Regions from separate parts of the Homo sapiens genome. Here regions 1 and 3 are each linked to region 2. The links are contacts of gene promoters, found by promoter capture Hi-C in blood cells and fetal thymus (Javierre and others, 2016). All regions are on one chromosome and are shown on one strand. The core of a region is centred on a gene start or on the middle of the fragment in contact, and the rest is flanking DNA. Distances in the headings are between cores, read along the strand shown.

Region 1 (3,880 bases), core at 1,254-3,753, 270 kb after region 2:
AAAGTGCTGGGATTACAGGCGTGAGCCACTGCACCCGGCCCGAGCTGCCTTTTTATAAGCTATTTTATGTGCTTATATTCTACTTCTTTTGCTTTGATAAAGGGGTTCTACCACTAAAAAGCAGTTTAAAACCTCTGCTATGGGCAAGTTGTGTGTAAGTTCCTGGAAGGACAGCTTATGGAGGAGAATTCCAGTAGGCTCTGGCAAGTCAAGTGTGCTTTGGACCGTGGGAAAGGAGAGAAGAGGCATGCCATACAGCCCAGGTGGCTGGGAGACCCAGAGACTCAGAAGGGCCAGTTACATGGGGCAGAGGCAGACTGACTTCCTGAGCTCTAAAAGCAGCAGCCTGGCCTCCATTCTGCTGTCCGGCTCTGCAGAGGGACACAAAGCAAGACACGTTCTAGACAATTCCCTGGTTATGGTGTCAGGACAGCTGGGAACCCATGGCCAGGAGGCCAGTGAGGAAACCAAGGAAAGAGGTGACAGAGCCCGAGCTGGGCAGGGGCAGTGACCCCGGGACTCTGAGAAGCGGTGGCAGGCTGGCGGTCTCCACTCTCCTCATCCTTAGGATCCCCATTGCCCCTAAGCTGCTTCTGGACTCTTCTAGGATCTCCTCTCTCTCTTCCCTTTCCCTCAGGCCTCACTCCATAACCCCCACTTGCCCACGGAAGCTGCTACTAGAGCTCTGGGCTGTCCTCCAGATCCCTTGCCTTGGAGCTGGGACAGAGCTGAGCACGTGCGGGGACCTGGGGGCTCTAGTTCATACCATGACATAATAGTTGCTGTTCACCATGAGAGGGCTCCTGCCTCGAAGGTAGATGTACTCTTCCCACCAGTCACTCACCTGTGGGGAGGTGGAAGGTTAGAGCTGGGGCGGGTGCAGCCAGGACACATGGCAGGTGACAGTGAGCCCAGGGGCAGGAACTTACATAGTTACTTGCCCACCATGACTTGAGCACCAGGTATTTCTGCAGCCTGGGGGCAGTCTTGTCCTGGAATTCTTTGGCCAGCAACTCCATGCGGTAATATTCCTCATCATCCAACAAGGGGCGCACAGACTCTAGGTACTGTCCAGCCAGTTATCATCACCGTGGGGCCAGATGGCAAGGGCTGCCTCTATCTTAATCCTCTTCCCACCTCTCCCTCCTCACCCAGCCCCATTATTCTCAAGCCCTTAAGGCCACTCTTTGCACAGAACCTTATATTTGGAAACATCTCCTGAATCCAACCTCCCCTGCCCACTGGGATGCCCAAGCGAGGCCCTCACCCGCTGAATTGTGGCTGACACCCTGGGCACAGGAAGCTTGGGCAGAGATGTCTGGAAGCTGTAGAGCATAGGGTGCCGGCTGGATAGAAGGCGGATACACATCTGGGGGTACAGAGCAGAGTGCTGGGGTGGGAGCCAGTGGAAAAAATGGAAACCAACCAGCAACTCCCTGAGACCCTCAGAGCCATCCCAGCCCCTCCAGGACAAACCACACACCAGGCACCAGTGCCCTGTCTGCCTCTCCCGTCTAGCTCAGAACCCCAAAGGAGTCCAAAGAGTCTCAACCCAGGTGCCTGAACCCCTCCACTGGCTGCTGCTCACAGCCCAGATCCTGGTCAAGTTGCTGGTCTTGCCATGCATCTCAAACATCCACCCATGGTAGCAGAGAAGCAGCTTCAGGGTTTGGCGGAAGAAGAAGATGCCCGTCACCCAGACGCCCGTGGAGAAGATGGCCATGCTGAGAAGTGCCCGGGTCTGCGGGGTCTGGTAGGGGCCACACCTATTGGAGAGGGGCAAGGGCTGCAGGGGGTCCTCTTGAGGCCAGCCTCGGGTGGCTGTGAACTGTCTCAGGGGAGACACCAAGGGGAAGAACCTCCCTGGGCACACTCATGTCTGACTGCATCAAATGAGCGGATGTAGGGCTAAGACAATGGTTGTCATAGGGGAGGGCTGCCCCGTGACTGCCAATGGCTGCTGTCCTGTATCTGCCCAGCTCAGGAACCTCAGCCTTGGGAGCTGGGCCCAGCCCTCCCTGGTGGCACCTGTGCCCTTCCAGTTTCACTCCTTACCCCTGAGGGAGGCATCTCTGGATGCAACTGACCAGCCCCAAGGAGATGTCCACGTTGCAGAAGGAGGAACCCACTGTTGCCATGATGACGACCAGCCAGCTGGTGGGGCTGCCAGGGTACACGCCCCTGAGGATGCCATTCTGTGGGCAGAAACAGGCGCCCTTATGGAGCCGGAAGGCGGGAGGTTAGCCTGCCTGTGAAGTCTTGGGAACTGGCTCCTGGTCTTGGCCTGGAAGGCTTTCTCTCCTGATGCCCTGCTGTGCTCCTTCCTCCGCCACACCCACAGCTCCCTGTGTCCGACCACATCCTGTGCACCCCTCTGGTGTCTGTACTTCCACAACCTGTACCGGGCAGAAGTGCCAGCCAAGGAGGCAGTGAGGGACCCTAACAAAGCGCTTAACAGCTGACAGCCGGCCTCTGCCTACGCTCTGGGAGAAGCACCTGTGCGCACCTTGATGCGGATCAGGCGTTTCTTCCAGGAGTTGATCCCAGACAGGTAGACGTGTTTCAGGGCCTCCCGACTGAGCCGGAAGTCGACCCCGTCTGGGGTCACCGTGAACTGGAAGGCCACGGCCTGGTGAGCTTCCGCCATCCTGGGGGTTGGTCGGCACCTAGGACGGGGGCAGATGGGTGCGCGGGCGCGCTTAGGCCGGCCCCGCCGCCAGCCGCGCCGAGACGCCCCCAGCCAGTCCGCGACCCCTCGCGCCCCCCACCCCGCGACTAGCGGCTGCCCCCGGCCCGCGCCCCCCGCCAGGCCAACCGCCGCCAAATCCTCGCGCCAGCCTTCCGGGTGGGCACAGCCACTGTGGTGCAGGGGATTTGGGCCTTGAAAGCTCCAGGAGCCCCAAGGACGGCGAAGGGCAGCCTGGAGTTGGGGGGCGTCAGCGAGGGCGCGGGCAGGGGAGAGAGGCGCCCCTGGAAGTGGAGCCGGCCTGGACAGAGGCAGGGTTCGGGAGCCCGCCCTTCCCCACCCGAGCGCGCGGGCCCCAGCGCCGTCCTCGCCCCTGTGCAGGGCTGAGGGCCCAGACCCCCGCGGGCCGCCCTGTGCCGGCCCCTACTCACAGCTCGGGTTCACTCCTGTCCGTGCGTGGGGCCAGCCACTCTGGCCCGTGTCCCCACGTCCTTCAGGCCTAGCCACCCCCGCCCCGCCCTCACCAGGAACCTGACACCTACTCCCAAATCGGGGTCGGGGAAAAACGTGGGGCGAGAACCAGAACCCACCCACCTTCCGCGGTGGGAATTGCAGGGCGCGGCTGGGTTTCTGTGCGGTGAAGGTTGCTCAAAGGTCTGGGAGCCTGGGGGGCCCCAGAGTCTCGTGAGGATGGTGGCTTTAGAGCTAAAAATAGCCAAATGTAGGGAAAAGGTCACCGATGTGTCAGCTGCTGCCTGTTCTGGGATCGCTGGTGCTCCGGGCGGCATCCCCACCTCAGGGTCGTCTTCATACCCCCATCACTCTCCTCCTCCCCAAGTCCTAGTATTTATTATTCTAAGCTGCAGCCAGGGGACTGGGGAGGGATGGGGGACCCCAACTGGCAGCATGAACGCTAACCACTTTCAATCCCAGAGCACTGAAGAGTCCCTTTGTGTGTACTGCTCGGTTTGGTACTTTCTGCTGCTGCTCAGCAGGGCCAGGACAGGGTGGGAAGAAGAAGCTTGTTTATTGTGTTACATACACAGCACGGGGCTCTGGCCTGCCAGCCATGGGGACCTACTCAAACTCAGGAACAGGCCGGTCTCCTGAACCTCAGTTTCACTTGGGGGCTCAGCCCAGTCGCCAGGGCCTTCTGCTCGTTGTTCCTCCCTCCAAGGTCCTGCCCTGGAGGCT
Region 2 (3,474 bases), core at 1-2,500:
CCTCACCTCTGGACAGGAAAGGGAGGGCTCCTCCCACCAGCTGTTCAGCTGTTCCGTGCCAGGGTCATCTGGGCATGGGGCAGGCTGAGAGCCCCCACTTCCCGGCAGCCTCGCTCTCCCACCCGCAAAGGGCTCCTGAGGAAGCTCAACTTTAAAGCCTCACAGGCTGCGCCGAACCTCCAAGCAAGGGCCGAAGTCAGACATTAAGTGGGGAGGGCGGGGGGGTCCAGGGAAGGTGGGGCACAGGGAGCCCTCCAGGCCGCCGGGATCTGCCGGGTTTGGGGCCCACCCTCACCCTCACCCTCACCCTCACCCTCACCCTCACCCTCACCCTCACCCCCTGTCCTGACTCTGCCACAGCCCACAGTGGGCAGACGGACCCCTTTCTTCCTTTCCCAGGGAGCTTCGGGAAGAGAAATCAAGGGCCTGGCAGGAAGCCCCAGGGCGTCCGGGCTCTGAGACCCCCAGATGACAGGGGGAGGCGGGCTCCCCAGATCTGCCGAATAGCCCGACCAGGGGCGCTGGCAGGGCAGGGGCTTCCTGCAGGAGCAGGGTGCGGAGGGGCAGGGTCAGCAGGGGACAGGCAGGGCTCGCGCCCCCGCTTCTGAGACTTTCTGTGTCTCGGGGTGTCCACCCAGACGCCACTCTGGGAACCGCGAGGAGGCCCAGGCAGTGGGGTCTCGCCAGGTGCGGGTGCTCTCCGCCCTGGTCCCCCCGCGCCAAGCAGGCCCCAGGGGGTGCGGGGACGGCCCCCGGGAGCTCGGGCAAATCCAGGCTCCTGTGCCGCTGAGCCTGGGGCCGGCCCGGAGCGCCCGCACCGCGAGACCATCTCCGCTCGGCGCACGGAGCTCGGCGGCTGAAGAGTGAGAGGCAGGCGCGGAGGAGGGATCCGACGCGGCTCCGGAGGGACGCGCAGCCCCCGCCGCCGGGCCCGTCCCCCGAGTCAACACCGGGAAGGGAGTGGGGCGGCAGCGGCCCGGGCCTCGCCGGATGGACCGACGGACGGGGCCCAGGCCCCGGGAGCCCTCCGCGGAGCCGCAGCCGCCGCAGGTCCCCGGGCCCCAGCGCGGCAGGCCCGGGCGGAGCGGCGCTGACGGCGAAGCCCCCCCCACGCCCAGCGAGACGTCCCCCGCAGCCCAGTCCCCCGAGCTCGGTACCTGCACGTCCGCCGCCAAGGCTCGATGGCGCCCGGGCCGCGCTCGGCGCTGCGCTCTGGCCCGCGCTGCTGCCATGGAGACGGGGCCTTTGTGTGGCCGAGGAGGGGCCGGAGCGCGCGGGAGCTGCCGGCCCCGCCCCCGACGAGGGAGAGGAGGGGAGGGCGGGGAGAACAGGAGAAGGGGGGAGAGGGAGAGGGAAAGCGGAGGGGGAGAAGGAGGGGGAGGGGGAGGGGGGAGAGGGGGAGGGGGGAGAGGGGGAGGGGGAAGAGGGGGAGGGGGAGAGGGGGAGGGGGAAGAGGGGGAGGGGGAGGGGAGGGGGAGCAGGAGCGGGGAGGAGAGGGCAGAAGAGAACCGGAGAGGAGGGGAGGGGACGGGAGGGGAGGGGCTGGGCCTGCGCTCCCCGCGCCCCCCACTTCTCCCCTGCCCAGCGGCCACAGCATTGTCTGGTAGGTTCAGGCACCCCAGTTCAGACCCAGGTTCAGCCAGGGCAGCACCCTGCCCACCATGCCGCCGTCCAGGAAGCACGAGCGCCCACAGAGGCCCCATGGCCTGAGCACCCCCACAGGAACCCCGCAGGTCTGAGGGGAGGCCATGGCTTGGTACCAGGGGAGGGCATTATGAGTGCACTCTCGCCTGGCCAGAGGAACGTGAGGGTCCCTGCCAGTCTTGAGATGTGTGGGCACCAGACTCTCACTCCCAGACTGGAAGCATACCAGTCGCTCCCCTGCGGCCTTCAGGGGTGGGGGCTGCTGGGCTTTGGCCCTTTCCCAGGGGTCTCAGGCCCTCAACCTCCCAGGGTAAACTGGGACCTGGAGATGGCCTCCCAGCACATCCCTGGCCTCCAGCAGCACCTTGGGATGCTGCACCCGGGACCCCACCTGGTCCTTCAGGGCCAGGAGGTGGGCGGGCCGAGACCTCTTTCTGGGGGTTCTGGTTTCTGGGACAGAGCTGGCCCCACTTCTGGCATCCCAGGTCCCAAGTCCTGGCCTCAGTGCTCCTAGTGTCCCCTGGGCTTGAGAAGAGGTGGTGAACCGTCTGCAGGGCCAGACCTTGGAGCACGCCTCCACTGCCCTCCCGGAACTGGATGTGCTGAGCAGGAGACAGAAGCATTCCCCAAGCTCTTGCCCCCACCCTGGGTCACCCCTCCCTGGGGCCCGCCTTCCACCCAGACCTGCCCCGTCCTTGCAGCTGGTCAGCTTCCTCCTGTCCCCAGCCAGGCATCCCCTCCTCCTCTGCTTCCCCCACCCGGGATCCGCCCCGCCACATCCTGACAAACTCCCCCAGCCTGACTTAGTTCTTTCAGTCTCTGCCTTCTCCCACCCTCAAGCAGCCAGGCCTTGTTCCTGTCCAAAATCTTCCCTTGGGCCTTGAACCACAATCCACATCACGGCAACCCTACCCTTCACTGCAGAGGACCCCAAAATTACCAGGTTCTGACAAGGTTGCCAACTTTTTATCAAAAAAGGAAAAGACAAGGTCCAGTCACAAAAGGACATTTTAATACCAAAACTGTGGGAAGGCCACTGTTCTAGACTAAAAGGGAGTCTTTAAATAGCCAGCAGGAAGCTTGAGGGTGAGCAGCTGTCCTTCCTGTCCCTGAGCAGGCCCCCTGTGTGCACCCTCAGCCCCGAGCCCCACTCCAGACCTGCTCCCAGCCCTTCCCACCCTCTAGGTTCTGTGGTCCCTGTCCTTCGGGAGGCCTGTGACCACAGCAGTCCTCACCCTCGCCAACTAAGTTCTGCCCAGCAAGCCCTCTTGCCTGCGGGGGCTGGCACTCTGGCCAGGGGTAGAGCTGTCTGGACCTTCCTGCCTCTTCACTGACTGCCCCTGGCCTGGAGTGCGTGGGGCGGGGAGGGCCATGGCCTAGCCCTGGACAGAGGCTCAGCCAACTCAGAGCGGCCCTGACACTGGGGGGGCCACAAGAGGCATCCGGACAGATGGAGCTGGCAGGTCTCCACGCCCAGCCCCCACCCATCCACCCCAGGCCACATTCCACCCCAGGCCTCTTCTGCACAGGTGGGGACAGGCCCTGAGGAAGAGGGGCTGGGACACTACCCCCCACCTTAGCCTTAGCTTCTGCCCAGGGCAATGCTGGCCACCCAGCCCGGTTCCCCCCTCAAGTTCCCCCTTCACACGCCACTATGTGGCCTCACCAGAGCCCTCCAGGGAAATCTGCTTGTGCATTTCTGGATACACAGTGGCCAGGGTCCCTGGGGGCTCCTCAGAGACCAGCCTGAAGCCCCTCCCCTGCAGCCATGTGGGTCTGCAGCCCTCTGTGCTGTGCGGCAGCCCTCAGAAAGCCAAGTGAGGCGAGACT
Region 3 (3,812 bases), core at 15-2,514, 320 kb after region 2:
GTGCGGGGGGCTGTGTACGTGTCTGTGTGTGGTGTGTGTGGAGTGTTTGAGGCAGGTGTGTGGTGTTTCAGGTGTGTGTGCATGTGTGGTGTTTGAGGTGTGTGTGTGTGTTTTTGTAGTGTTTGAGGGATATGTGTGTGTGGTGTTTGAGGTGGGTGTGTGGTGTTTGAGGGGTGTGTGTGTGTGGTTGAGGGGTGTGTTTGGTGTTTGAGGGGTGTGTGTGGTTGAGGTGTATGGTGGTTGAGGTGTGTGTAGTGTTTGAGGCACGTATGTGTGTGGTGTTGGGTGTGTGTGGTGTTAGAGGTGTGGCGTATGTGTGTTTGCGGTGGTTGAGGTGTGTGTGTGTGTCTGGTGTTTAGGGTGTGTCTGTTGTGTGCGTGTGGTGGTGGAGGCGTGGTGTGGTGTGGAATGTGTGTCTGGGGTCCAGTCTGGCCTGTTGCAGGGTTACGCTGCTGGGGAAAAACTCATCTGAGGACAACGTGATTGGGTCCTCGCTCCCTCGTTGGGCAGCCTTGGACTTAACCTTTTTGATCTTGAAGGAAAACACAATATGTCACCTCCAAATATATTTCCTTGACACGGTTCAAGACAGTTACTCAGAAGGACTGGAAATAGAAGAATAGCTGAAAAGCTGTCTTTTGTGGGGGAGATTTGCATCTGTGGAGAGAATCTACACTGATGCGGCCAGGCCTCCTCTGAGGCCCTCCTTGCCTGATCTGGGAAGAGTAACAGTCTGACGCCTTTAAAGGCCTGAAGGGAACATTCACCATCTGTTCTCTCTCAGGGCTGCTACCTGTGAGGTTTCATCTGTAGAACAAGGCCACCTTTGCTAGCCAGGCCTCCTCTGCTCTCCCTCCTGTAACCGGTCTTGCCACTGGTCACCTGATTTTCCACCATAAACTGTGGCCATACTTTGAGCCCATGTTCTTTCTGTAACCTCAAGATGGTATATAAGCTTCCGAACCCCATTGGGAGGTTGGGGTCATCACTCTGGTTCTCCCTGTGTGCATGAATAAATCTGTATGCCTTTTTTCTTACTAACCTGGCTTTTGTCAGTTGATTTTCTGTGAACTCAGAATGCAGAAAAGTTTTTCTCTAGGCTCCTACAGTTTTGGTGCAGTCGGTAGGATAACTAAAGTCACTCTCCTGGGAGCCTCCGTCAGGGGAACCCAGGAGCCGACAAGCTGGCAGAAAGAAGGGTAAGAAGGTCTTAGCAGCCAGGCTCCCGGCCTCTCTGGAATCTTGTCAAGCCGACGGTAAAAATGTCTGTTTACCTTGTTTTCCTCTTCAAAGTTTTAATGAGAGAAATGTATTTATGTGATTAGTTTTGTATTCATATTGTTTGATTGCTTTTTTTCCCCAGAAATAGTCGTCTTTCATTCTTGTCTTTCTGTGTTTTTCTGTCATAAAGAGGGTAGAACACAGGCCTAAAACCCCTGTAAACCCCGTCTTGGGGCCGTCCTGCAGGCTAGTCAGTTTTGCAGCTCTGATCGGATGCGTCTAGTTAGACAGACTTTGCTGTGGGTCCCTGAACTGAAAACTGGATGAGATTCTCCTCTCTTTTGATGTCCTTGAAAGCTTGAGTTGTGAGCGAGTGGGAATGATGCAGGCCAGGCAGACCCCAGAGTGGAGCTTAGCCAGTGAGGGTTTTGGCTTTGCCCAGGAAAGAATTCAAAGACAAGCCAGAGGTAGAAGAAAACAGCTTTATTGAACAGGTGGCGTTAGAGCTCTGTGACTGCTCCTGCAGAGCAGGGCCACCCCGTAGGCTGAGAGTAGCAGCTCAGGGCAGTTTTGCAGTCACATTTATACGCACTTTTGATTGCATGTAGATTAAAGGATGGTTTATGCAGAAGTTTCTAGGGAAGGAGTAGTCATCATTGGGTCATTGCCATGGAAAGGGGTGGCAACTCCTGGGTGTTGCCATGGCAATGGTAAACTGACATGGCACAGTGGCGGGCATATCTGACTGAAAGCTGCTATTGCCCCAACCCTGTTTTAGCCAATCCTCAACTGGGTCAACTAAGTCCCACCTCCTACCTCAGGAGCACTCTCTTGGCCTCTGCCAATCCGAGGTAGTGACTCGCAGGTCACATTTTGTGGTCAGTCTGAAAATGGTTGGGAACCCAAGACATTTAATATTTTAAGCAGCACCGTTTTTGTTCTGAATGTGTCAAGCTTTTAGTTTGTCTTAAGAAGTCCCTGCCAGGCGAGCTGTCAGAGCCCCGGCACTGGGAGTGGTGGTCAACTTGCGGGTTGGTAAAAAGAGTTTACCGACAATAGGTTTGAAAAAGGAAAGTTTGGCCGGGCATAGTGGCTCATGCTTGTACTCTCAGCACTTTGGAAGTCCAAGGTGGGTGGATCACCTGAGGTCAGGAGTTTGAGACCAGCCTGGCCAACATGGAGAAACCCTGTCTCTACTGAAAGTATAAAACTTAGCCAGGTGTGGTGGTGCGTGGCTGTAATCCCAGCTACTTGGAAGGCTGAGGCAGGAGAATTGCTTGAACCTGGGAGGCGGAGGTTGCAGTGAGCTGAGACAGAGCAAGACTGTCTCAAAAAAAAAAAGAAAAAAGAAAGTTTGCCGGGCACGGTGGCTCACGCCTGTAATCCCAGCACTTTGGGATGCTGAGGCAGGTGGATCACCTGAGGGCAGGAGTTCAAGACCAGCCTGGCCAACATGATGAAACCCCATCTCTACTAAAAATACAAAAAATTAGCTGGGCATGGTGTCGGGAGCCTGTATTCCCAGCTACTTGGGAGGCTGAGGCAGGAGAATCGCTTGAACCTGGGAGATGGAGGTTGTGGTGAGCTGAGATCATACCATTGCACTCCAGCCTGGGCAACAAGAGTGAAACTCCATCTCAAAAAAAAAAAAAAGAAAAAAAAAGAAAAGAAAGAAAGTTTATTAGAATGCTGCAGAAGAGTGCAATGAGGTGCCTCAGCAAGAGGACTGAGTACGCCGGGTGGATTTCTCCTTAAGGGCATTTATAGGCCTTAAAGTGGAGGCTTAACAGTAATTTGGACCATATTAGCCACGTAAGTCATGATAAATGATTACATTTATAGTAATTTTGGTGCCTTAATGTCAGCGACGGTTGTACAGTGAGTTTCGTCATGGTATTCTGGAGACACATAGAAATTATAGTTACTTACACGTTTTTTGGGGGAAGAAATCTGGAACCAGATGCCTGCTTTAGATAATAGGGAGGTTTAGTTACTTTTGATTTTCCCCAGATAAGGAGTTTTGCCTCGGAGGGCCTGTTTGATGTTTGATGGTCGCCAGGTGGTTTTTGCTCTCCTCAGGCCCATCCATAAGGGGCTTTTGTCATCCCAATGTTTGTTGCCTGGTCAGTCCTCAGAAAGCCCAATCCCAACAGGCCTACCCTGTGTTACAGGTTAATGGGTCTGTGACTGGCAGCCCCTGACAGATTGTGTGTTACTGGAGGCACTGTATGTACAAACACGTTCCTTAACTGTCTCTGGGAACAAGAGTCTTTTGCTGTCTTTGCCTATTCCTGGGAGTGAATTTTGGGGGCATCATTGGAACCTCCTCTTCTATGCCCTCTCTAAACCTGGAAAATAATCTTTTGGGCTTTCCATGAAGGGGCTTCTTGGATTGAGTTGCTATTGGAATAAATACATCATTGGAAATTCTGATTGTCAATAGCCAAAAGATGAATCCTTTACATTAGAAAGATCCCTAAATTAAAAAAAAAAAAAGATTTTAGAGGTCTCTCATTCTAAACAATTGCCTTATTTGTATTTGTGGGGAGATTAAAGGAAAGACACATAATAATGTTGTGGCTAGCCTTAGA

The links. The method cuts DNA at HindIII sites, captures the fragments that hold promoters and counts their contacts. A CHiCAGO score of 5 or more calls a contact.
Region 1: a fragment that was not itself captured here is called in contact with the fragment with the promoter of PLXNB2 in region 2 in 9 of 17 cell types (monocytes, naive CD8 T cells, M0 macrophages and 6 more); the score reaches 8.8 in monocytes.
Region 3: a fragment that was not itself captured here is called in contact with the fragment with the promoter of PLXNB2 in region 2 in 2 of 17 cell types (naive CD8 T cells and total B cells); the score reaches 6.8 in naive CD8 T cells.

What each region holds. Positions count from the first base shown.
Region 1 is chr22:50,575,269-50,579,148 of GRCh38, forward strand. CPT1B (carnitine palmitoyltransferase 1B) reads right to left here and starts at 3,159. Exons shown (of 20, transcript NM_152246.3): 1 at 3,118-3,159; 2 at 2,507-2,666; 3 at 2,056-2,195; 4 at 1,589-1,766; 5 at 1,268-1,369; 6 at 930-1,067; 7 at 767-844. The coding sequence starts at 2,647. CHKB (choline kinase beta) reads right to left here. Exons shown (of 11, transcript NM_005198.5): 11 at 3,695-3,880. It overlaps CHKB-CPT1B (CHKB-CPT1B readthrough (NMD candidate)), which reads right to left. Exons shown (of 30, transcript NR_027928.2): 11 at 3,768-3,880; 12 at 2,507-2,666; 13 at 2,056-2,195; 14 at 1,589-1,766; 15 at 1,268-1,369; 16 at 930-1,067; 17 at 767-844. RefSeq lists an enhancer at 872-1,166 and silencers at 872-1,166, 2,651-2,730, 3,071-3,190. The HindIII fragment of the contact is 2,404 bases long and covers 1,302-3,705 here.
Region 2 is chr22:50,306,396-50,309,869 of GRCh38, forward strand. It overlaps PLXNB2 (plexin B2), which reads right to left and starts at 1,251. Exons shown (of 37, transcript NM_012401.4): 1 at 1,158-1,251. DENND6B (DENN domain containing 6B) reads right to left here. Exons shown (of 20, transcript NM_001001794.4): 20 at 2,635-3,474. RefSeq lists an enhancer at 1-104 and silencers at 412-562, 1,083-1,152, 1,163-1,362, 1,523-1,572, 2,273-2,322. The HindIII fragment of the contact is 14,640 bases long and covers 1-2,721 here.
Region 3 is chr22:50,628,640-50,632,451 of GRCh38, forward strand. It overlaps LOC124905149 (a long non-coding RNA gene), which reads left to right and starts at 2,855. Exons shown (of 2, transcript XR_007068161.1): 1 at 2,855-3,812. The HindIII fragment of the contact is 623 bases long and covers 954-1,576 here.